Regions from separate parts of the Homo sapiens genome. Here regions 1, 2, 3, 4, 5 and 7 are each linked to region 6. Evidence: promoter capture Hi-C in 16 types of primary human blood cells and fetal thymus (Javierre and others, 2016). All regions are on one chromosome and are shown on one strand. Each heading gives the region's core, a stretch centred on a gene start or on the middle of the fragment in contact. The rest is flanking DNA. Distances are from core to core; before and after follow the strand shown. Region 1 has its middle 11 kb from the start of SLAIN1. Region 2 overlaps SLAIN1 (SLAIN motif family member 1). Region 3 overlaps SLAIN1 (SLAIN motif family member 1). Region 4 overlaps SLAIN1 (SLAIN motif family member 1). Region 5 overlaps SCEL (sciellin). Region 6 holds the start of MYCBP2 (MYC binding protein 2). Region 7 has its middle 15 kb from the start of FBXL3.

What was found. The method cuts DNA at HindIII sites, captures the fragments that hold promoters and counts their contacts. A CHiCAGO score of 5 or more calls a contact.
Region 1: a fragment that was not itself captured here is called in contact with the fragment with the promoter of MYCBP2 in region 6 in 2 of 17 cell types (total CD8 T cells and naive CD8 T cells); the score reaches 6.0 in total CD8 T cells.
Region 2: a contact is called between a fragment that was not itself captured here and the fragment with the promoter of MYCBP2 in region 6, in 1 of 17 cell types (naive CD8 T cells). The highest score is 5.3, in naive CD8 T cells.
Region 3: a contact is called between a fragment that was not itself captured here and the fragment with the promoter of MYCBP2 in region 6, in 7 of 17 cell types (naive CD8 T cells, naive CD4 T cells, naive B cells and 4 more). The highest score is 10.3, in naive CD8 T cells.
Region 4: a fragment that was not itself captured here is called in contact with the fragment with the promoter of MYCBP2 in region 6 in 7 of 17 cell types (naive CD8 T cells, naive B cells, total CD8 T cells and 4 more); the score reaches 12.0 in naive CD8 T cells.
Region 5: a fragment that was not itself captured here is called in contact with the fragment with the promoter of MYCBP2 in region 6 in 1 of 17 cell types (naive B cells); the score reaches 5.1 in naive B cells.
Region 7: a contact is called between a fragment that was not itself captured here and the fragment with the promoter of MYCBP2 in region 6, in 10 of 17 cell types (fetal thymus, non-activated CD4 T cells, naive B cells and 7 more). The highest score is 9.2, in fetal thymus.

Annotation. Positions count from the first base shown.
Region 1 is chr13:77,685,562-77,688,710 of GRCh38, forward strand. No RefSeq gene overlaps it. Among named protein-coding and RNA genes, the nearest start is that of SLAIN1, 11 kb to the right of the region's middle. The HindIII fragment of the contact is 1,288 bases long and covers 1,116-2,403 here.
Region 2 is chr13:77,756,132-77,759,265 of GRCh38, forward strand. The region is part of intron 5 of SLAIN1 (SLAIN motif family member 1); the gene reads left to right. Among named protein-coding and RNA genes, the nearest start is that of MIR3665, 60 kb to the left of the region's middle. The HindIII fragment of the contact is 1,018 bases long and covers 1,266-2,283 here.
Region 3 is chr13:77,739,710-77,742,759 of GRCh38, forward strand. All of the region lies in intron 2 of SLAIN1 (SLAIN motif family member 1), which reads left to right. Among named protein-coding and RNA genes, the nearest start is that of MIR3665, 43 kb to the left of the region's middle. The HindIII fragment of the contact is 1,116 bases long and covers 1,243-2,358 here.
Region 4 is chr13:77,716,778-77,719,963 of GRCh38, forward strand. It overlaps SLAIN1 (SLAIN motif family member 1), which reads left to right. Exons shown (of 7, transcript NM_001242868.2): 2 at 2,755-2,894. Among named protein-coding and RNA genes, the nearest start is that of MIR3665, 20 kb to the left of the region's middle. The HindIII fragment of the contact is 1,066 bases long and covers 834-1,899 here.
Region 5 is chr13:77,585,639-77,588,811 of GRCh38, forward strand. The region is part of intron 9 of SCEL (sciellin); the gene reads left to right. Among named protein-coding and RNA genes, the nearest start is that of SCEL-AS1, 19 kb to the right of the region's middle. The HindIII fragment of the contact is 2,438 bases long and covers 697-3,134 here.
Region 6 is chr13:77,325,807-77,328,920 of GRCh38, forward strand. MYCBP2 (MYC binding protein 2) reads right to left here and starts at 1,288. Exons shown (of 83, transcript NM_015057.5): 1 at 668-1,288. The coding sequence starts at 969. LOC127898562 reads right to left here and starts at 1,182. Exons shown (of 1, transcript NM_001414702.1): 1 at 1,099-1,182. The coding sequence starts at 1,182. The coding sequence ends at 1,099. LOC107984564 (a long non-coding RNA gene) reads left to right here and starts at 1,239. Exons shown (of 2, transcript XR_001749930.2): 1 at 1,239-1,329; 2 at 1,458-2,392. RefSeq lists silencers at 708-827, 868-1,247 and an enhancer at 1,438-1,767. The HindIII fragment of the contact is 13,146 bases long and covers 1-2,492 here.
Region 7 is chr13:77,040,456-77,043,306 of GRCh38, forward strand. No RefSeq gene overlaps it. Among named protein-coding and RNA genes, the nearest start is that of FBXL3, 15 kb to the left of the region's middle. The HindIII fragment of the contact is 234 bases long and covers 1,462-1,695 here.

The sequences.
Region 1 (3,149 bases), core at 510-3,009, 360 kb after region 6:
GCTCCAATTAAAAGACACAGACTGGCAAATTGGATAAAGAGTCAAGACCCATCAGTGTGCTGTATTCAGGAAACCCATCTCATGTGCAGAGACACACATAGGCTCAAAATAAAAGGATGGAGGAAGATCTACCAAGCAAATGGAAAACAAAAAAAGGCAGGGGTTGCAATCCTAGTCTCTGATAAAACAGACTTTAAACCAACAAAGATCAAAAGAGACAAAGAAGGCCATTACATAATGGTAAAGGGATCAATTCAACAAGAAGAGCTAACTATCCTAAATATATATGCACCCAATACAGGAGCACCCAGATTCATAAAGCAAGTCCTGAGTGACCTACAAAGAGACTTAGACTCCCACACATTAATAGTGGGAGACTTTAACACCCCACTGTCGACATTAGACAGATCAACGAGATAGAAAGTCAACAAGGATACCCAGGAATTGAACTCAGCTCTGCACCAAGCGGACCTAATAGACATCTACAGAACTCTCCACCCCAAATCAACAGAATATACATTTTTTTCAGCACCACATCACACCTATTCCAAAATTGACCACATACTTGGAAGTAAAGCTCTCCTCAGCAAATGTAAAAGAACAGAAATTATAACAAACTATCTCTCAGACCACAGTGCAATCAAACTAGATCTCAGGATTAAGAATCTCACTCAAAACCGCTCAACTACATGGAAACTGAACAACCTGCTCCTGAATGACTACTGGGTACATAATGAAATGAAGGCAGAAATAAAGATGTTCTTTGAAACCAACAAGAACAAAGACACAACATACCAGAATCTCTGGGACGCATTCAAAGCAGTGTGTAGAGGGAAATTTATAGCACTAAACTCCCTAACTCATTCTATGAAGCCAGTATCATCCTGACGCCAAAGCCAGAGAAGGATATAACAGAAAAAGAAAACTATAGACCAATATCCCTGATGAACACAGATGCAAAAATCCTCAGCAAAATACTAGCTAACTGAATCCAACAGTACATCAAAAGACAATACACCATGGTCAGAAAGGGCTTATTCTAGGGATGCAAGAATGGTTCAACATACACAAATCAATAAATGTGATTCATCCCATAAACAGAATTAAGGACAAAAAGCTTATGATCACCTCAATAGGTGCAGAAAAAGCATTTGATAAAATTTGGTATCATTTTGACACCAAATTTCATGACTAAAAACCCTCAACAAACTAGGCATAGAAGGAACACTCCTCAAAATAATAAAGGCCATATATGACAAACCCACAGCTAACATCATAATCAATAGGGAAAAGTTGAAAGCATTACCCCTAAGAACTATAACAAGACAAGCATGCCCACTTTTACCACTCCTATTTAACATAGTACTAGAAGTCTGAGCCAGAGCAATCAGGCAAGAGAAATAAATAAAAGGCATTCAAATAAGAAAAGAGGAAGTGAAGTTATCTCTTTTCTCTGATGATATAATCTTATATCTAAGAAACCTTAAGACTTTACCAAAAAACTCTTAGATTTGATAAATGAATTCAGTAAAATTTCAGGATAAAAAGTCAATGTACAAAACTCTATACACATTTCTACACACCAATAATGAGTAGCATTTCTACACACCAATAATGATCAAGCTGAGAAACCAAATGAGCAATTCCATTTTGAATAACTACAAAAAAAAAGGAATATATTTAACCAAGGAGGCAATTGATCTCTACAAGGGAATCTACTGATGAAAGAAATTGTGGATGACACAAGCAAATGGAGAAACATCCCATGCTCATAGATTGGAAGAATTAATATTGTTAAAATATCCATACTGCAGAGAGCAATCTACAGATTCAATGCAATCCCTGTTAAAATATCATCATTTTTCACAGAATTAGGAAAAGATATCCTAACATTCATATAGAACCAAAAAAGAGCTTGAATAAAATCAAAGCAATCCTGAGCAAAAAGAACAAAGCTGGAGGCATCACATACCTGACTCAAATTATACTACATTGTTACAGTAATCAAAATGGCATGGTACAGGTATAAAAACAAACATATAGATCAATGGAACAGAATCAAGAACCTAGAAATAAATGCACATATCTAGAGCCAGCTAATCTTTGACAAAGTTGACAAGAATACACACTGGGAAAAGATAGCCTTTTTGATAAATAGTCCTGGGAAAATTGGATTGCTATATGCAGAAGAATGAAACTGGACCCCTATCTCTCACTATATACAAAAACAAACTCAAGATGGATCAAAGGTTCCAATGTAAGACCTGAAATTATAAAAATACTAGAAGAAAACCAAGGAAAGAGTCTTCTGGACATTGGTCTCGGCAAATAATTTATGACTAAGACCTAAGAAGTACAAGTAACTAAAGCAAAAATAGGCAAACTCGAGTTAATTAAACTAAAAGCTTCTGCACAGCAAAATAAATATTCAACAAGTGAACAGACAACCTGTAGAATGGGAGGAAATATTTGCAAATTATGCATCCAACAGGGGACTGTTATCCAGAATTTACAAGGAACCCAAAAAACTCAACAACAACAATAAAAATAACCCCATTAAAAAGTGGACAGAGGATGAGAATAGACAATTTTCCAAAGAAGACATAGAAATGACCAATAAGCATATGAAAAAAATGCTTAACATCACTAATCATCAAAAAAATACCAATTAAAATCACAATGAGATACTATCTTACATCAATCAGAATGGTTATCATTAAAAAGTCAAAAATAAAAGATGTCAGCAAGGATGTAGAGAAAACAGAATGCTTATACAAAGTTGGTGGAAAGTAAATTAGTAAAATCTGTACAGAAAACATTATGGAGACTTCTCAGAGAATTAAAAATAGAACTACCATTCAGTCCAGCAATCCTACTAGGTATCTACTGAAAGGAAAGAAATCATTATATGAAAAAGATACCAACACTCCCATGTTTATTGCAGTACTATTCACACTAGTAAATATATGGAATCAACCTGAGTGTCCATCATCAACAGACTGAATTAAAATGTGGTATATATATATACAATGAAATAGTATTTAGTCATAAAAAGGAATGAAATCATATCTTCTGTTGCAACATGGATGGAACTGGAGGCCATTATCTTAAGTGAAGCAACTCAGAAACAGAAAGTCAGATACTGTATG
Region 2 (3,134 bases), core at 525-3,024, 430 kb after region 6:
TATGCCTATTAATTCTAACTAGTTTCTCTTATGTGTTTTTTTTTAAATCAAGGGTGGTTATATATGTTACATGTAGGAGAGATAGTAGGACTCTATTCCTGAATAAACTGTTCTGTAATTTCATTTCAAATGAAATTGGTTGGCATTTCATTGACTCTGCAGATCAATTTTTGGAAGATCTTAACAATATTAAGTCTTTGCATCCATTAATATGTAATAGTCCTCCATTGACTCAGGTCTTTAATATCAGTGAAGTTTTGTAGCTTTCTATATAGAGGTTTTATGTTTCTATAGTTAAATTAATTTCTAGGTATTGTGATTTTTAATAAGTAGTATTTTTATAAATAGTATTTCCTCAGGTTTCTTTCAGTTTCTACTAGTTTGCTGGTATTTTGAATATAATTGATTTTTGTGTTTTGATATTGAATCCAGCAACTTTGCTAAATTAATATCTCCTAATAGTTACCCAACATAATGAGTGCATATGATCACCAAAACATGTTCAAGGAGGTTCATAAAACCCCAAATTAGAAATAACCTAGCTTTCTGTCATCAGGGGAATAATCACATTTATACAATGGAATACTGCTTAGTAATACAGCAACACAGGTGAATCTCACAGACAAAGTGTCGAGTGAAAGAAGCCAGATTAAAAGGTTAACATACTAATAAGTCTATTCCTAGGAAGCTCAAAATAGGGAAAAACAGTCTGTTGTGATAAAAGTGGGAATAACACTTACCTTTGGGGGAGTTTTGACTAGGAAGAGGCATGAGAGAGCATTGTAAGGTGCTGGTGATGCTTTTTATCTTGATATGATTAGTGGTTACATGAACATATGCACTTTGAAAATTCACTGAGCTGTAGACTTAAGATGTATGTATTTTATGTATATTATGCTTCAGAAGAAATTGAGCCAAATTCATGTGTTGAAGGTTTTTAAAAAATTAACACTTTTTTGGAGCAGTTTTCAGTTTATAGAAAAATTGAACAGGAAGTACAAAGAATTCCCATGTAATCCCTCACCCTCTGTATCTTCCTAGTTTCCCCTATTATTAACATCTTGTGTTAGTGCAGTAGACTTGTTACAGTTGCTGAACTAGTATATTAAATATTTGCATGGTTAAAAACTAGCAAATTAAGGCATTACAGAATTGATTAGAAAGAATCTTAGAGATGATTCGTCAACCAAGAGGACTTTGCTGTGTCACAAAGCTAAATGGGAACACACCTAAGGGAGGATCTTACATAGACTTTATTTTTATAAAGCTTTTTGACTACTATACACATGTATCAACATTTCTTTTTTTTTTTCTTATTTCAATAGTTTTTGGGGTATAGCTGGTTTTTGGTTACATGGATAAGTTATTTAGTGGTGATTTCTGAGATTTTGGTGCACCTGTTACCGAAGCAGTGTACACTGTACCCAATATGTAGTTTTTATCCCTCACCACCCTCCCAGACTTCCCCACAAGTCCCCAGAGTCCATTATCTCATTCTTATGCCTTTACATCCTCATAGCTAAGCTCCCACTTACATGAGAGAACATACGATATTTACTTTTCCACTCCTGAGTTATTTCACTTAGAATAATGGCCTCTGGTTCCATCAAAGTTGCTGCAAAATATTAATTTGTTTCTTTTTATGGGTGAGTAGTATTCCTTGGTGTATATATACCACAGTTCTTTATCCACCCGTTGGTTGATGGGCACTTAGGTTGGTTCTATATCTAAGCCATTGCAAATGCTGTTGCTATAAACATGCGTATGAATGTGTCTTTTTTTCAAATAATGACATCTTTTCCTTTGGGTAGATACCCAGTAGTGGGATTGCTGGATCAAATGGTAATTCTACTTTTAGTTCTTTAAGGAATCTTCATACTGTTTTCCATAGTGGGTCTACTAATTTACACTCCCACCAGCAGTGTAAAAGTGTTCCCTTTTTGCCACATCCACACCGAATCTATTGTTTTTGACTTTTTAATTATGGCCATTCTTGCAGGGTAAGGTGGTATCTCATTGTGGTTTTAATTTGCATTTCCCTAATGATTAGTGATGTTGAACATTTTTTCATTTGTCTGTTGGCTGTGTATCTTTTTTTGAGAAATGTCAATTCATGCTCTTTGCCCACTTTTTGATGGGATTAGTTGTTTTTTTTCTTGTTGATTTATTTGAGTTCCTTGTAGATTCTAGCTATTAGTCCTTTATCAGATGCATAGTTTGCAGATATTTTTTTCTACTCTGAGTTATCTGTTTACTCACTGATTATTTATTTTGGTGTGCAGAAGCTTTGTAGTTTAATTAGGTCCCATTTATTTATTTTTGTTTGAGTTGCCTTTGCTTTTGGGATTTTAGTCATGATTTCTTTGTCTAAGCCAATGTCCAGAATAATTTTTCCAATATTATCTTCTAGAATTTTTATGGCTTCAGGTCTTATATTTAAGTCTTTGATCCATTTTGAGTTGATTTTTGTATAAGGTGAGAGGTAGGTATTCAGTTTCATTCTTCTACATGTGGCTTGCCAGTTTTCCCAGCACCATTTACTGAATAGGGTGTCCTTTCCCCAATTTATGTTTTTGTATGCTTTATTGAAGATCAGTTGGCTGTAAGTATTAGGGTTTATTTCTGGGTTCTCTATTCTGTTCAATTGGTCGATATGCCTATTTTTATAGCAGTACCATGCTGTTTTGGTAACTATAGCCTTGTAGTATAATTTGAAGTCAGTTAATGTGGTACCTCTAGACTTGTTCTTTTTGCTTAGTCTTGCTTTGGCTATGTGGGCCGTTTTTTGGTTCCATATGAATTTTAGGATTGTTTGGATTGTTTTTTCTAGTTCTGTGAAGAATGATGATGGTATTTTGATAGAATTGCATTGAATCTGTAGATTGCTTTGGGCAGTATGGTCATTTTCACAGTATTGATTCTTCCATTTCATGAGCATGGGATGTGTTTTGTTTGTGTCATTTGTGATTTCTTTCAACAGTGTTTTGTAGTTTTCCTTGTAAGATTTTTCACCTCCTTGGTTAAGTATATTTCTAAGTATTTTATTTTATTTTTTATAGATGTTGTAAAAGGGATTGAGTTCCTGATTTAATTTTCAGCTTGGTTGTTGTTGGTATACAGCAGTGCTACTGATT
Region 3 (3,050 bases), core at 551-3,050, 410 kb after region 6:
ATTTTCAGTGTGACAAATTAAAGAAACTTAGGTTGTTCCTTAAACCCATTCTGTCGTCTGCCTTTTTATGATTTTCTTGATTTTATCACGGGAGCATTTATCGAATCTAGTTTTTTTGGTCATACTTTGCTTAATGGTATACAAAAATAACTACACAGATGTGTTATAACTTATCTTTTCAGTCAAGCAACTTTGAAAATGTACAAAAAATAAGAGACCGTTAGTCACCCTCAACTTATATTTTTGAAAAAAAATGAGGTATCAGTCTACAATTTAGTACTTTATCACATTCATTCAGTAGAAGATGATTGTCAGACAAGGGAGGTGAAGTATAAAGTTTAACCAATAAGGGTGCATCCTTAGGGTAGCTTCAGAGACACTGTAGAGGTGGGCATGAGATAAATGACAGTCTGTAAGGGTGGTAGTGAAATGAGCTGAAGTACCTTTAAGGTCTTGCATTTGATGAAAAGCCCCTGCGGTACTTTAATTGATGAGAGTAACACAGTTAAAATACATGACATTCAGAACAGGTTTGCTCAGGGCAGTGTTGGTGGCTGGAAGTTTGTTGAAGAGCAGGTTGCAGTAATCTGGTGAGAGGTGGTGAGTGGTTAAGGAAGTTGCGGTAGAACTACAGAGATTATGCAGAAAGAAGTGTCCTGGGAGGCAGTTTAGCTTAAGGCATTTGGGAAAGAAAACTGTGCCAAGTATCGTACATTGATTCAGTGTGTAGTCCTGTTTGGGGCCAGTTCGATGCTATTCTAGGGATTGGAATAAAATGAAAAAATGCATAGTCTATGCCACTTCCAAGTTTGCGAACCGCCCCCCCCCCCTTTTTTTATAAATAGAACTCTGGAGTAGGAGTATAGGGAAATTTAACTGTTGTTCAAAAATGGATCACCCATTTTTTCTCTTTTGGCAAAATTGCCTCACTCCTTTCTTTAGAGCTATTTCGGTCATCACTGAGCCTCTTGAATCATTTCACATCATTTTATATACCAAAAATCCACTGAGATAATTGGTTGAAAAAGATAAAATTGCTCTTTTTTACAAGTTCTTTTTGTTTGTTTTATTCTTTATAAAAGTGCTTCCTGTTACAATTCTTTAGCTATGTACTGAAGAACAACTAGGATGTGATAGCTTCCACTCCTGTCCTCCTCCTCCTCCACTGTAACCTTGGGCACTAGTGGAGCATTATTGTTTTGTTAGCCTGCCTTTACAATAATTTTCCTCCCCTTTCTGAAAAGCTTCAATGCTAAACAACAATGTAGAGCATTCTTTCTTGCAATAGACGCTAATTGTGTTCCTAGTTGGGATCTTGCTGTCATAGCCACAATAACTGTGTCAATTGTGCAGGGAGGCTGGGTCACAGTGGTTATTGTGCAGAGTGATGAATGCTGCTTACTTGTGATGTGCTGCCGCCCGCATCTGTGGGTGAGAACACGCAGTTACTGTAATTTGCCTGGCAAGTGATCAGACTGGTATAAAATAACATCATCTGTTAGGCAAGATAGCAGTCACAAAGAACTATTGGTCTTTTAAAATATAGAATTTTTAATGAGAAACTTTGAATAATAGAGATTGAACATGTGAGAACAGCTACCTAGTGTGTGTTGCATTATTAACCCCTAGTTTGTAGTGTATTCTGGAGTCAAGTTGACCTACATAGAAGAGAAGGAACTGGAAGTGCATGTCTGTGTTCTGGCTCCGATTGGGAAAAGCTGCTTAACCACTGTAAGTTACGGGTTGGATAAGTGACATATACGACTGGTGTCAATTGGCAACCAGGCTTCACAGTTTCATGAAATGTGTGGATTCTGAAAGTGTTGTCATTGCGAATGTGGTTTCCTTGCCTAGTTCTTCCACATACTTAAGGAAAAGATATTTTTAATGTAATTGTTAGAATGTGTTGGTACGTAATGATTCTGAAGTAAAAGGAATTTTTTTTTTTTTTTTTTTAAGTAAACTTGGTGTTTTGCAAGGATCTGAAGAATCCCAGTTTGGAGCTGATTATTTTCTTGACTGTCCACATCCCACAGTTTTTTTTTTTTCTCTCCATCCCACTGCCCATTTTAAAGCACTTTTCAGCTGTCTGATTGCTCATTAGCATTGCTCATTAAAAGTGGTCTGGGGGCATGCATTTCAAAGCAGTCCTTTTAATACTTGGTTTTTCAAGTTTTGTCAAATTCCCAGTGAATACAAACCAAGTTATTTCTTGAAGTTTAGCCTTGTTTATATTTTTTATATTATTCCTTCTGCTTAGTACATGTCTAAATGATTACTTTTCAGAAAAGTGAATTTTGCTTAGCGCATTGATTTGTATCTCATGAGAGGAGAGTAAATCATGTTTGGTGTGACTTAAGCTTTTATGATTTGGGATTTGTGTGTGTGTGTGTGTGTGACCCCAAGAACATGGAGATACAAGGGGTGGTAATTTTGGAGGGGAGAAGTACATTAATTAGACAAGTGAGGTAATGTAAGAATGAGATCATCTGCCCATGGCTGGTGTAATTCCTTTTTGTTCATTATATTAATTTAAAAAATAATATTAAAGTAATAACATGTATATTCCTACCTTGAAAAGCTAGTTATATAAATAATATGTATGTTTAATGCAGATAATTTGGAAGTTTTTTTTAAAGAAAAAATCCGAGTGATCACCAATAGTCTCTGTACCGGATAGTCATTGTTAAGCTCTGGTATAGACACCCCTCTGTTACTCTGTACACTGTTTTTCCTTTAAACCTTGTTTTGGTCTCAAGGCCATTTGGAAACACAATAGTCATTCTAAGTCCTCCCATAATCCAATACTGAATTTACATAAAATGTTTTTTATCAACATTTTCTGATATTAACTGAGTAGAAAAAATATAGAATTACATATAGTTAATATTAAGAACATTTCCCTTAATTCCTAAAGATTAGGAAGATTATAAACTTGAGTTTTTCTTTTGACACTAATCCTTTTTTATATTGCAAAACACTAAATCCTTATGTGGAAATAGAAAATTGAAAACATTTCTAACGTAGAAACTCAAAATAAATTTTCATTA
Region 4 (3,186 bases), core at 117-2,616, 390 kb after region 6:
CTTCAGATTTTTTTTACATAGATGATCATGTCATCTGTGAATAAAGACAGATTTACTTGTTTCTTTCCAATGTAAATGTTTTTAATGTAATGCCTGATTGCATTGGCTAGGATCTTCAGCAGAGTGTTAAATAGAAGCGATGAGAGCCAATGTCTGTGTCTGTTTGATATCACAGGCAAAGCATTCAGCCTTTTACCATTAACTATGCTGTTTTTGTAGATGCCTTCAATCAGGTTGAGGATGTTTCTTTCTGTTTCCGATTTGATGAGAATTTTTATCAGGAGTGGATGTCAAATGCCTTTTTTTTCTATTGATATTATATACTTTTTCTATTTTAGTTAATCTGATAAGTTATATTGATGTTTGAATTTGTACCAACTTTTTATTTCTGATATAAACCCCACTTATTAATGGTGAAATATGCTAATGGTGAAGTTAGACTCAATTTACTGAAATATTTAGACTTTTTACATCTGTGTTCATGTGTGATATTGGCCGTTAGTTTCTTAATTTGTAATGTCTGATTTTGGTGTCAAGGTAACACTGCCCTAATAGGATGTATTAGGATGTATTCCCTCCTCTTCTGTTTTTCGGAAGAGTTTGTGAAGAACTGATGTTTTCTTTAAATACTTGGTAGAGTTTAGCAGTAAAGTCTTCTGGGCCCAGGTTTTTCTTTGTGGGTAGTTTTTTATTTTTTATTTTTTGATTACTTTTCTGGCTATTTACTTTTAACTTATTTGTTTGCCCATGTTTAAGGTGCGTTTCCTGTAGGAAGCATATAATTGAGTCTTTTGTGACACTTCCACCTCCCTTTAAGGAAAAACTTGTCCGCAAGCTTATCAGATGATTTTCTCTCAGTTTCTGTTGGCTAGGATTGTGTCTGGGGCGTGGGCCTAAACCAGTCAGGCAAAGGGGAACAATGAAAATACCATGATTGGCTTAGCTGAGTGCCTCTCAAGATGTGGTCTCCAGACCGGTAATATTAGCATCACCTGGAAGCTGCTTAGAAATCCAGATTCTTTGACCCTATGCATCAAACTTTTAAGGGGTGTGGTTTAGCAATTTGTCTTAACAAGATGTTTAAGTAATTTTGAGGCATGAGACATTGAGAATAACTAGCCTGGACTAACCTATACTTGTGAGTAGGGAGAAGTACCGTGTACTGGGCAGTTTAGGCTATGTTGCAAGGAAGTGGAAGGGATTATTACCTACATAGGTAGGTGATAATCTTGCCATAGTAGGACTGAGCTGGGGCCCAAGAATATGATTTTTAACTATATATACTCTTGATGGAGTCACAACTGTGCAACACACTCTAAGGAAAAAAAAAAATATATTGGACTTACAATTAAATCCATTGAGATCTATATTTTAGAGTCCTTACCTGTAACTGGAGTGAACAAACTGTCTCAAGGGCAAATCAGAGCCGTTGCATGTTTTGTATGGTGGGTAAGATACGGTTTTATGTTTTTAAATGATGAAAAAAAATACAAAGAATGTGAAAACTATGGGAAATTCAACTTTCAATGTCTATAAATCAATTTTAAAGGAACACAGCCACGTTTATTCGCTTACATATTGTCTAGGATGCCTTTGGACTGGAATGGCAGGGCTGAGTAGTTGTGACAGAGATCATGTGGCTTACAAAGCCTGAAATATTTACTTGCCGGTCCTTTACAGAAAACATTTGGCAATCCCTGATCTGTAAGAATAATTTACTGAAGAATAGTACATTCCCCAACCATCTTGTATAACTGATAAATTACTCTAATAGGTGAACGTTTTGTCTAGAACAGTGAAAGTATGAATAATGAAGTATGTTATTTCAAGAATATGTGCTTATTAGAATTGTGGTAGCTTTGTTGGAAAGAAGATTACTTTAGATTTGTAATTAATGTAAGCTTATAGTAGTAAGGTGTCACGTATTAGAGCCAGCAGTTTTGGGGAGGTAATTCACCCTCCCCCCTTTTTTAGTTAACTGCTGTTTATTCCTCAAGATAAACCTTTCTGTATAGCCCTATCACTGAAAATATTCTAAAATCTACCTTAACATGGCATATTAATGAGAGAAGCTTTTTTATAACTTGCAGTGCCTCCGGGTAGTCATTTTGAATACTATCCATTACTGTGTAATTGTGTAGGTGCTGAAAGTGAAGTCTTCGTAAAACATATCTTTTAAAGCTCTTTGTTTGGCTTTAATGAAAAAGAAACATATACCAAGGTTAGTATAGATTTGAGACAGGAGAAATATGTGATTATGTAAGGGTTCAAAGAATCAAGTGACTGGCTTTTACGGGTGTTTAGACTTATTTTTAAAAAATACACATAAGATTTGCCTTGTTTGTCACATCATGTTTACCTTCATTAGCCCAAGTTTACAAAAGATTCTGTTGCCAAAGAGAAAGATGAAAATGTTCATTTCTTGACATGTCAATAGAGATAGTAAGATCATGATAGTGCCTTTTTAGGGCTAGTTTAGTTAAAAAAAAAAAAAAAGCCCTTGATCTCTGATGCTGAAACACACAGTTAGGGGGAAAATTGTTAGACCTTTTTTTGGAAGTTCTCACCAGGCTACAGGAAGTGTCATATTCTATTTGGGGATATTTGCCTGTTAAAAACTATTTCTGATACTTTGAAGTCATCAAATATGAGTTCTGTTTCTATGGAAATTGTTAAATACATGTTGCTTTCCCCAGAGAGAGGTACTCTCTGTATACCTATATCATACCTATAATGTAGATTTCTTTTTTTAAGGTTATACATTGGCTCTTCAAAGACGTTCACCTCATCAGAGAAATCCCTGACTCCTTTGCAGTGGTGTAGACATGTCCTAGATAACCCAACTCCTGAGATGGAAGCAGCGAGACGTTCCCTGTGCTTTAGACTGGAGCAAGGTAATTGTGAGTGTGTGCATTTACATTCTCCAACTCTTGTCACTCTCAGTGCTGCTTTTGTTGCTGGTTTTGGAATAAACATTTCAATTGAAAATTCTTACCCTGAGGTGCAGCTGTTGCATGCAATTTGCTTCACATGTATTACACATCAAGCTTTCTCAATGTAAGATGTGTTTAGTTTTGTGCTTGATTTTAGCCATATTTTTAGTTTGCTTTAGTTCATATTGCAATGTAGGAACACACAAATTTATTTCTTTTTTTTTTCTGTTTGCAAATATACCAGTCAAAAAAA
Region 5 (3,173 bases), core at 666-3,165, 260 kb after region 6:
GGACTCATTCCATTATGTCCTTTCCATAGACCCTCATTGAAACCCCAGTCAGGTCATTTCTTATCACCTGGACCATCTCCACAGAGCTCTGTACCTCCCTGAACCTGACCCAACCTAATATCACACTGAGCTCTCAAACCCTTCCACTCCACCTTGCTGAGCGTGTCATTTGTCATTGCCAAAATCCTCCACTCTTCAGCCTCCCCTCTGAATGATCTCCCACCTTTTTGTTGTGCTCTTCCAGAGGACCCTGCTTCCACAGCCTGTCTCTCAATAAGGGCTGTTTTCCCTCTAAACTGACATATCACAGGGTCCGGATGAAGGTAGGGGTCTTGTTTGCTTCTCATCACCACCTGCTGTTAATTTTAACTCCCTCCTCCCTGAAACTCTCCATCTCCTTTGAAGCCATGCCCTTGTGAGCTTCTCATCTTTGTTGGAGTCATCTGAAGGTCTCTGAGACACTCACACTCATTCTTTGAAGACTTCAGCACCACGCTCACTGTCTTTCCCAAACCCTCCTCTTGTCATAATGCTTGGTGATTTCAAAATCCATGCAGAGGATCCTTCCCCTCCCCGACCACTCACCTTTGTGACCTTCTCCCCGATGATCTTGTTCTTCCCACTACTGCAGCCATTGATAGATCTTGCCCTGTAAATAACCACATACCCTACAAAATTACAAGACTTCTACTTCAAAGCTTTCCCTCTCTGGCTCCCGCTTTCTCTCTGTCCAGCTCACTCCCTTCAGTCCTTTGATTCCAGGAATTCCTCAGCCCCATCACAATCACCAGTCCATTAATTCTACCAGTTTTTTCACAGTCCCCACTACTCATATTCTCATTTCCCTCCATGCCCATCTCAAACTCCACAGCCCCCATTGTAACCCCTTCCTTGAAGACCCCTTCCACTCCCTTGCCATCATTCTCTTTGTTGCACTCACTTGGCTGAATTGTAAACGTGGCTAATGGTAAATCCAACTCTCAGTCTATTCTGTTCCTCCTCCCCAACCAGTTGAATATGGCAAGAGGAAACAATGCCAAATAACCTGATTTTAAGCCCATGAGTACTAACCTCAACTGAGCCATTGGTATGGCCCAAGGATCCTTCAAGAGACAGCACAGCATTTGGAGGGTTTATGCAGCCAGACTTTCCCTTTCAGATTCCCAGCTCTGCCCCTTATGAGCTGCATCATCATGAGATATTTATCTTTATGTTCTGTGCTTCAGTGTTTTAATCTGTAAAATGGGAAGAAGAATAATACTTATGTCTGGGATTGCAGTGAGGATTTCATTAGTTAATATATGTAAAGTGCTTAGAAAAGTTTCTGGCACATAATGACCCCATATAATAGTACATCATCATCATCACCATCTTACTACGTTTCCTGGGTCCACTTACTCTTCTGCTTGCCTAGAAAACCATTTCACACATTTTCTCCGCCTCTTTCTTTCTCACACAGTCCTAATCCCTACTCAACCTCCTCACTTTGAATCAATGATCTTGATTGTTATTTTACTGAGAAAATAGAAGTAAACAAAAGAGAACCTTCCTCACTCTGAGTCAATGAACGTACCCCAGCTATACTCATCTAGTTCTTTCCCTCTTGCTGCTGTGAATGAGCCCTCTGTACTTCCATCTAAGATCAACCACCACCCTGTGCCTTAGGTCCCATCAATTCTCAAAGTCATCTGTCTAGTGATTTCCCCCTCTCTCTCCTGCATCAATGATTCACTGGATCATTCCCATCATCATACCTACATGCTGTAGTAACCTTCCTCGATCCATCAGCCTCGAAGTAGCTACCCATTTCTGTCTTCCTACTTTACTGCCAAACTGCCTCAATGCCTCTATCTCCTTGCTTCCCCATTTTTTCCTAAATCCACTCGTATGATTTTTTTTTCTTTTCCCACCATCGTTCCATCAAAACTGCTCTTATCAGGGTGACCAAAGACCACTCTGTTGGCCAAACCATGGTAATTTCCCAGTCCTTGTTTTTATTTGATTAACAGTAGCATCTGAAATGGCCAAGTACTCTTTCCTTGAAACTTTTCTCGCTTGGCTTCTGGGATGCCACGCCCTTCTATTACTCTTGTTTCCTTCTTGGCCACTCCTCCTGATTCTTTTGCTGTTTTCATCTCATATTCTTGACCTCTAAATATTGCAGGGCCTGAAGGTCCAACCCCTGGCCCTCTTTTTGTCTCTACTTACACTGACTCCCTTAGTGATCTCTGCCAGTTTAAAGCATTAAATACCATCTCTAAGCTAATGATGGCTGTATTTATATGCTTTTTCTCCAGATAGCCTCATGGCTTACTCTATTACTTCCTGCAGGTCTTGGTTCAAATTTCACCTGACAGAGAGACCTTCCCAGTCCATTCTAAATAAAATAATCTTCCCATTCCATCAGTCTATATCTCCTTATTCTGTTTTATTATTATTATTATTTGCACAGCACTTTTCTTCTTCTGACATATATTTATTTGTATATTGAAAGCCTTTGAGAACAAGGACATTACCCAGCTCACAGAGAGCCTTCCTTGCACATAGAAAGCTACCAATAAATGTTTGTTGAGTAAAAACACAATCTCATTCAGTCCTGACAATACCCCAACAATCCTATTAGAAAGATTATTACAGATGAAGAAACAGAATCAAGTTAACCTGTTACCACACAGCTGGCAATTCAGGCAGCCTGACTCTAGCCCACATGCCTATCTACCATTGCTACAGAAGCCAGAAGGGTACACAGGATCAGAGGGTTCTTTTACCAGGTACAGAGTTTATGTTGAGGACAAATAGAGAACTGCTGGGGTGGTAGTGGTGGGGAACACAGGGGAGTGACATACTCTTAGTAAGGTGCTGACTCCATCCAAAATGTGCACATAATTGCCCATCTCCAGTTCCTACCTCATTAAGTCCTGCCAACTCAGAGACTGCTGTGGTGCTTCATTGGAAAGTTTAGGCTGACGGTAGATTGTATATATGCTTTGTCAGCATCAAAGTGGCCTGTGCTGACAATATTTAAGTCAGATTTAGTTAAGAGCTTCAAATCAATGCTACCTTGAGGTCTCTGAAATTAAAGCCTTTTCTTGCTGTTTCCATAGCAGCCTGATAGTTGACATAATCCCCAAAGAAGCTTATATATTAATACCCAAGGACCATTTACAGTTCTC
Region 6 (3,114 bases), core at 38-2,537:
ATCAAAGTACAGCTCTAAAAATCTCTATCAGACACCTTTCGCATCCACACAGATCTCCATCTGCGTCCCTTATTCATAAATCTTTTTAAAGCAAACCTCACGCCTATCCCTCGGGCCTGCTTATCCAAAACTCAACCAATCTATACCATGACTCCTCTTGGTGAAAGGCAGATTGAAGGGAGGTGGAAAGGGCTGGAAGGAATGTCATGGGAGAGGCGGCACGTGCAAATAACATTGCGGCAGAGACACTGAAAACGCCACTTCCCTTGCCACTGTTGCAATTCTCTTCGTGTATCATCCTCTTACCCTCTCTACCCATGCCACCTCCTACCTCAACGATACACACACGTGTCACAGCCGACCAGCACCATCGCCTTTTCCAGCATCACAGGTTCCCCTACCACCCCTCACTATCCCCCCACATAGGCAGGCAGACACACACACACACACACACACACACACACACACACACACACACGAGAAACTGCAGCCACCGCACCCTCCTATCTCGATAAGTGCTCCTGCCAACAGACATCCAGAGCGGACTGAAAGCTCAATAAATGCGCAGGTACACACACGCAAGCACACACACACGCGGGTGCACGCGCGGCATGGGGCGCAAGGAAGGGCGGCATGGGGCGCAAGGAAGGGCACCCTGGGGACGCACCTGGAGGCTGGGTGTCCAGCGCTGCCGCCCCCCTGGTCCCTGTCATTGAGCGCAGCGGTATAAATCCTCCGGTAGCGGTCGGCCAGGGCCCGGCCTGACAGCAGCAGCTGGTAGTGACCCCGGGAGTCCGCGGCGGGTAGCCCCAGCCCCAGCCCCGCAGCAGCCACGGAGCCGTCGGGAACCGGCATGAACAGCGCCCCCGGCGCCGGGGAGGAAGAGAAGGTGGCGGCTGGGTAGAATCCGTCCCCGCCGAGCCCCGAGGAGGCGGCGGCGGGGGAGGCAGTCGCTGCGCACATCATCATCCTCGCCGCCGCCGCCGCCGCCGCCGCCTCGTCCCCGCGGGCCGGGCGGGCAGACACGCGCGCGCACACACAGCCCTTTTCCAACGACGACGGCTCCGGCGGCGGCCTCTGGCTCCCGCAGCAGGGAGACTACAAAGACAGCGACCTCCTTCTCCTCCTCCTTCTTCTCCTCCTCCCCCCCGCGCCGCCCTCGCCGCTACTGGGGCCGCTCATCTAACCCCGCCACCCCGGGAATGTGAGGAGGAGGCGGTGCCGCCACTGCCGCCGCCACCACCGCTACCACCGCCACCACCGCCGGGGCTACCCGCAATGGGAAGCTGCCGGCCTCACAGAGCATGCGCCACTCCTCGCACATGCTCAGTAACTGCCGCCCCTTTTCCTCCCCACCCCCTCTCCGCCACCACTCCCTCCGCCTCGGGGCTTTGGGTTTGGGGCTGTTGGGTTGTGCGGAATCTGAAGTAGTCCACTTCTCCGGGTTTTACTGGCAGCTTGAAGAAGAGTAAGGAAAGTGCTGGGGAGGCTGTCAGCTACTGACGTTCGACTTCAGGTTCCCTCCAGGTGGAAGAACGAGGACCAGAAAGCAAGGGGGAACGTGCCCATCGCCAGAGGAGGAGTGGCACGCTCTTCTGCTACCTCTTCTCCAAGGCTCTGCTGCCAACAGGAAGATTTACTGTGAATTGTGCTGGTTAATTCAGAGTTTAAGGCAGAGAAAACCATCCCAATTAGAAGTGCCTTTAGCGATCTTATTTTATATGGTTTTTGTCATTAGGATTTACGCTTGTTTAACACAGCTTTTACTTACAAAGACAGGTAGTAATCTAGCACATTCTTTTTTGTGTGTGAAAGTATTTTGTGTGTGAAAGTATAACAGATAGGCTAGTATTCACAAGCCAGAGTCATTCCCAAATTCTTGTTCTCAACGGAGCAATAATATTTTTTAAATTACTCTTTTTTATTGACTCCTCACTCACCTAAGAGTGCACTTTTATCTCTTGGCAGTGGTCATTTAATGGTTTATTTTTTTCTGCCCAAACTTACATTTTTAAAGATAATTCTTGAATGCGATCTGAAACAATAATTGTGACGGAGACTGTATAGCGTCTGAAAATGTCAGATCCATCACATATCTTGTTGTTGTCTATAAAAAAGTAACATTTGCTCAGTCCTTTGTTCCAAGCTAACCTACGAACCCCATCTAAGTATATGCTCTAGAAATATACGTGCCAATGCACTTTGATTCCTACTACGTTTTATCCTTTGACTCTCAATTTGAAGAGTTTCCTAATTTACAGTCCTGACAAAATAATTTATAAGTTCTGTCATCCCAGTACTGTATCTTTCATCTATGTACTAGTTCTTATATCTGTGCCTCTTCTTCGGATGGCCTTCTCTTAAAAAAAAATAAAATAAATGTTAAAAAATCCTCCTTAGTGTTTGAGAAGTGCAAACAACAAGGAATAGGAAAGTAAATTAATTCTAGTTTTAGGGTGGAAGGTTGCTGAAAGCAATGCATTTTTTTCTGAAGCTTTAAATAATGGATGGATTTCATTTAGTTTTTTTAAAGATAATTAGCAGTGGGATAAACATAGGAACAAAGGACAAGACATGTGGAATCATAGTATTTTAGTACTGTAATTAGCCCTGTTAAGTTTTTGTATTTGTCTTGTTTCCTTACCTAAGTTCCTTCAGAGCTTGCTGCTTTTGTGTCTCCTTCAGCCACTTCAGGACTTTGCATGTAGTAGGTATCCAGTAAGTATTTATTAGACTAAATTTCTATCCTAATGCTTCAGCACAGTTAAAGACCTCAGTGTTGACCAGGCAGCCCCTAACCCTGGAGTGAGAACCAAGACAATGGTGTAGAGGCAGCTAAATTCTAAGAATTCTAAGGCCTGACAGGTAAGCAATGAGAGGGCCCATTACTATTGCAAGACCTAGCAGGGTAGCTAAAAGGCTCTGAAATCAGACAGCCCTGGAATTGGATCCTGACTCTGCTACTTAATACTTGTCTGGCTTTGGGCAAATTATCTCCTCTGAATAATGCTCAAAAGAATACCCACTACATGAGATTGAGGGAGGACTTAAAGGATCTAGGATGTCCAACTTGGCACATGAATTTTCACAAATGGTAGCACATACTAAACAAAA
Region 7 (2,851 bases), core at 329-2,828, 290 kb before region 6:
ATCTATCCTGAAAGACTATCTGCGTTGGCTTTTTTTTTTTAAATTAACAGATGAACATTGTATGTTTTAAATGAAGATATCTCTGACCTTGCTTGTTACTGGAGAAACTTACTGTAAAATTGATGGCCTTTTCTTGAGCAATTTGATAACATTGTATGGTTACAGCGAGACACTAATCTTTAACCTTGGCTTTTTCTTTCATAATTTTTCTTCACTGTAACTCCCTCCAGCGTATATCTTTTTGTAGTCTTGTTATTTTTTTCTAAGCCACCCTAAGACATTTGAGAAATGAAGCCATAAGTAAGTCATTTAAAATGTATTACCCTCCTGTGTCAGGCAGGTCCTCTAGGAAGCAGATGCCAAGATTAAGTTAGAAGTGCAGAAAATCTGTTGGGGGTAATCCCTATGAAAGATAAAGTGATGAGGGAGCAGGAGTGGGCAGGGAGAGCCATTAGACTGTGATGCAGGTCTGGCATCTAGGAAAGAAGAGAGAAGGAAAGATTGGGTAGGAAAAGCCTCCGACTGCAGGGCAGCTGTAAGACAGTCTCAGTCGGCCTGAGTTCTTACGCAAGACCGCGCACGCAGGAGTGCCGCTTGGGCAGAAATGGCCAGGCCCGAGAACCCCATCTGAACTCTATCACAGGCTGGGGCTGCCCTGGAGGAGTGTGACATTGGGTCATATGTGGGGGTGATTAAAGCTGGAGGCTGTCAGCTAACTGGACTCCTTGAGGTGGGGCCTCCCCTGAAGGGAAATCTGGGTGGAGGTACCTCCTGACGACACTGAACACTCTTGGAGGCATATGCTGTCTTGTCCCCTGTGCAACCTTGGCCATACGATAAGTGTCCTGAAATTTAAAACTTTGAGTACTGACATGCCTGATACCCAAATAAAATGCTCACTGGAGCATTTTGGATTTCAGATTTGGGATGCTCAACTGGTAATGCAAATATTCCCAAACCTGAAAAAACCCGAAATCAGAAACACTTCTGGTCCCAACCATTTTGGATAAGATGTATTTCATAAATTAGTATTTCTTTTCATAGAACTAGCAGTAATGTAACAATAATAGCATGATGTGATAGAGCTTGGGCTTTAAACCCAGAAAGCTGTGAATTCACATCTCAGGATTTTTTTTTCTGAAGCTAAACTACAGCTGGAATCTAGTGCAAATAATTTCTTTAAACAGCCAAAATGGGATTAATAATGCTTTACTCTCAGAGTTGCCAGGAGGATTAAATAAAATGCCTAATTTCACTGGCTGCCTTTTAGGAGGTGTTGAGTAAATGTCCTCTCCTTTGCTCTCTCTTGAATAGTTTATTGTGGGATAAAGCACTTTTGTATATACCTTCTCATTTGATTTTGATTTGGAATAATTTCTAATAAATTGAGATTTTAAAAGGTATGTGGCTGACTCAAGGCCACCCAAGCAAAAACAAGGCAGAACCAAGGCTTGAATTCAAAGCTTCTGGTTTCCATCCCAGCACTCTATGCACTATCGGCAGTTTTCAGGAAAATGAGCCGCAGTGTTCCATCATACAGCCAATAGCAGAAACACGTGATGATGTATAGGTAGAATACAGTGACACAGTGGGCAGGGAGATATATTGGGCTGAAAATCTGAAAAACAATACAAATTACTAAACATTCTGAATGAAAAGTGAATAAAGGGAGCATTGCATATATTTTATCAAATAAGCTTATTGAGGTTGGGTGCGGTGGCTCACACCTGTAATCCTAGCTGAGGCAGGTAGATCGCTTCAGCTCAGGAGTTTGAGACCAGCCTGGCCAACATGGTGAAACCCTGTTTCAATTACAAAAATTAGCTGGGCATGGTGGCTCGTGCCTGTACTCCCAGCTACTTGGGGCTGAGGTGGGAGGATCACTTGAGCCCAAAAGGCAGAGGTTGCTGCGAGCCGAGATAACGCCACTGCACTCCAGCTGGGGCGACAGAGTGAGACCCTTTCTTAAAAAAAAAAAAAAAAACCCAAAAAACTCAAAAAACCAAAAACCAAAACCAAATAAGCTTATTGATAAAATAGGGAGATTTTAGGCCTAAACAGTCTAGCCATAATACTAAGAAAAATGGCTTTTCCTAGGCTTGAAAATATAACGGAAAAACAATTTCTTTCCAGGAAGATTCACTGACATCTACCACTGTGATTCTGCTTTCTGTCTCCTGCCTTGGATGTTACATGCAGTGTTTGAAGGATGGTCCTTGTGTGTAGGATGCTTGAGCTAAAAATGCCTGCCAAAGCCACTCCTTCCTGTGCTTTGTCATAATTTATTGCTAAGATGTTTATGTTCTCTGGTTTTGAGGTGCTAGAGATCCTGACTAAAAGTGACTTCCTCATAAATGAAGATAAGTTGAAGTCATTGTGAGTATTCACTACACAGCTTTGTTGATTTTATCCCTTTCATAACTTGAGATGGCTTTTTTAGCCAAGCCATCTCAATAGTTTGTTTCTTTTCCTCTACGATTTACAAACTGAGCTGACCAGTTTGCCAGCAAAGTTAACTGACGCAAGATGGTATTCTTCGCAGCTATTAAGTGTCCATAAAGTCTCTTATCTGTGTGGCATTCTCAAGGTTAGTTTCATTCCTGTGGCCTGTGAATTTAAGTCAAATATACTGACAGTGTCAAGTCAAATATACTGACAGTGTCCTCACTGCATTCTCCCCTCCAGTTTTCTTGTAACAGCTTTAGTCTCTCTACGTACTTTGTGTTTTCTGGAAACATTTTCAGTCAATCCTAAGCTTGAACACTCATACTTACTGTTCTTTGATCATATTCTAGATTTTCCTACTTAGGTATTTCTCATGCCTTTCTCCACATCTCTGCTCCTTGAAATG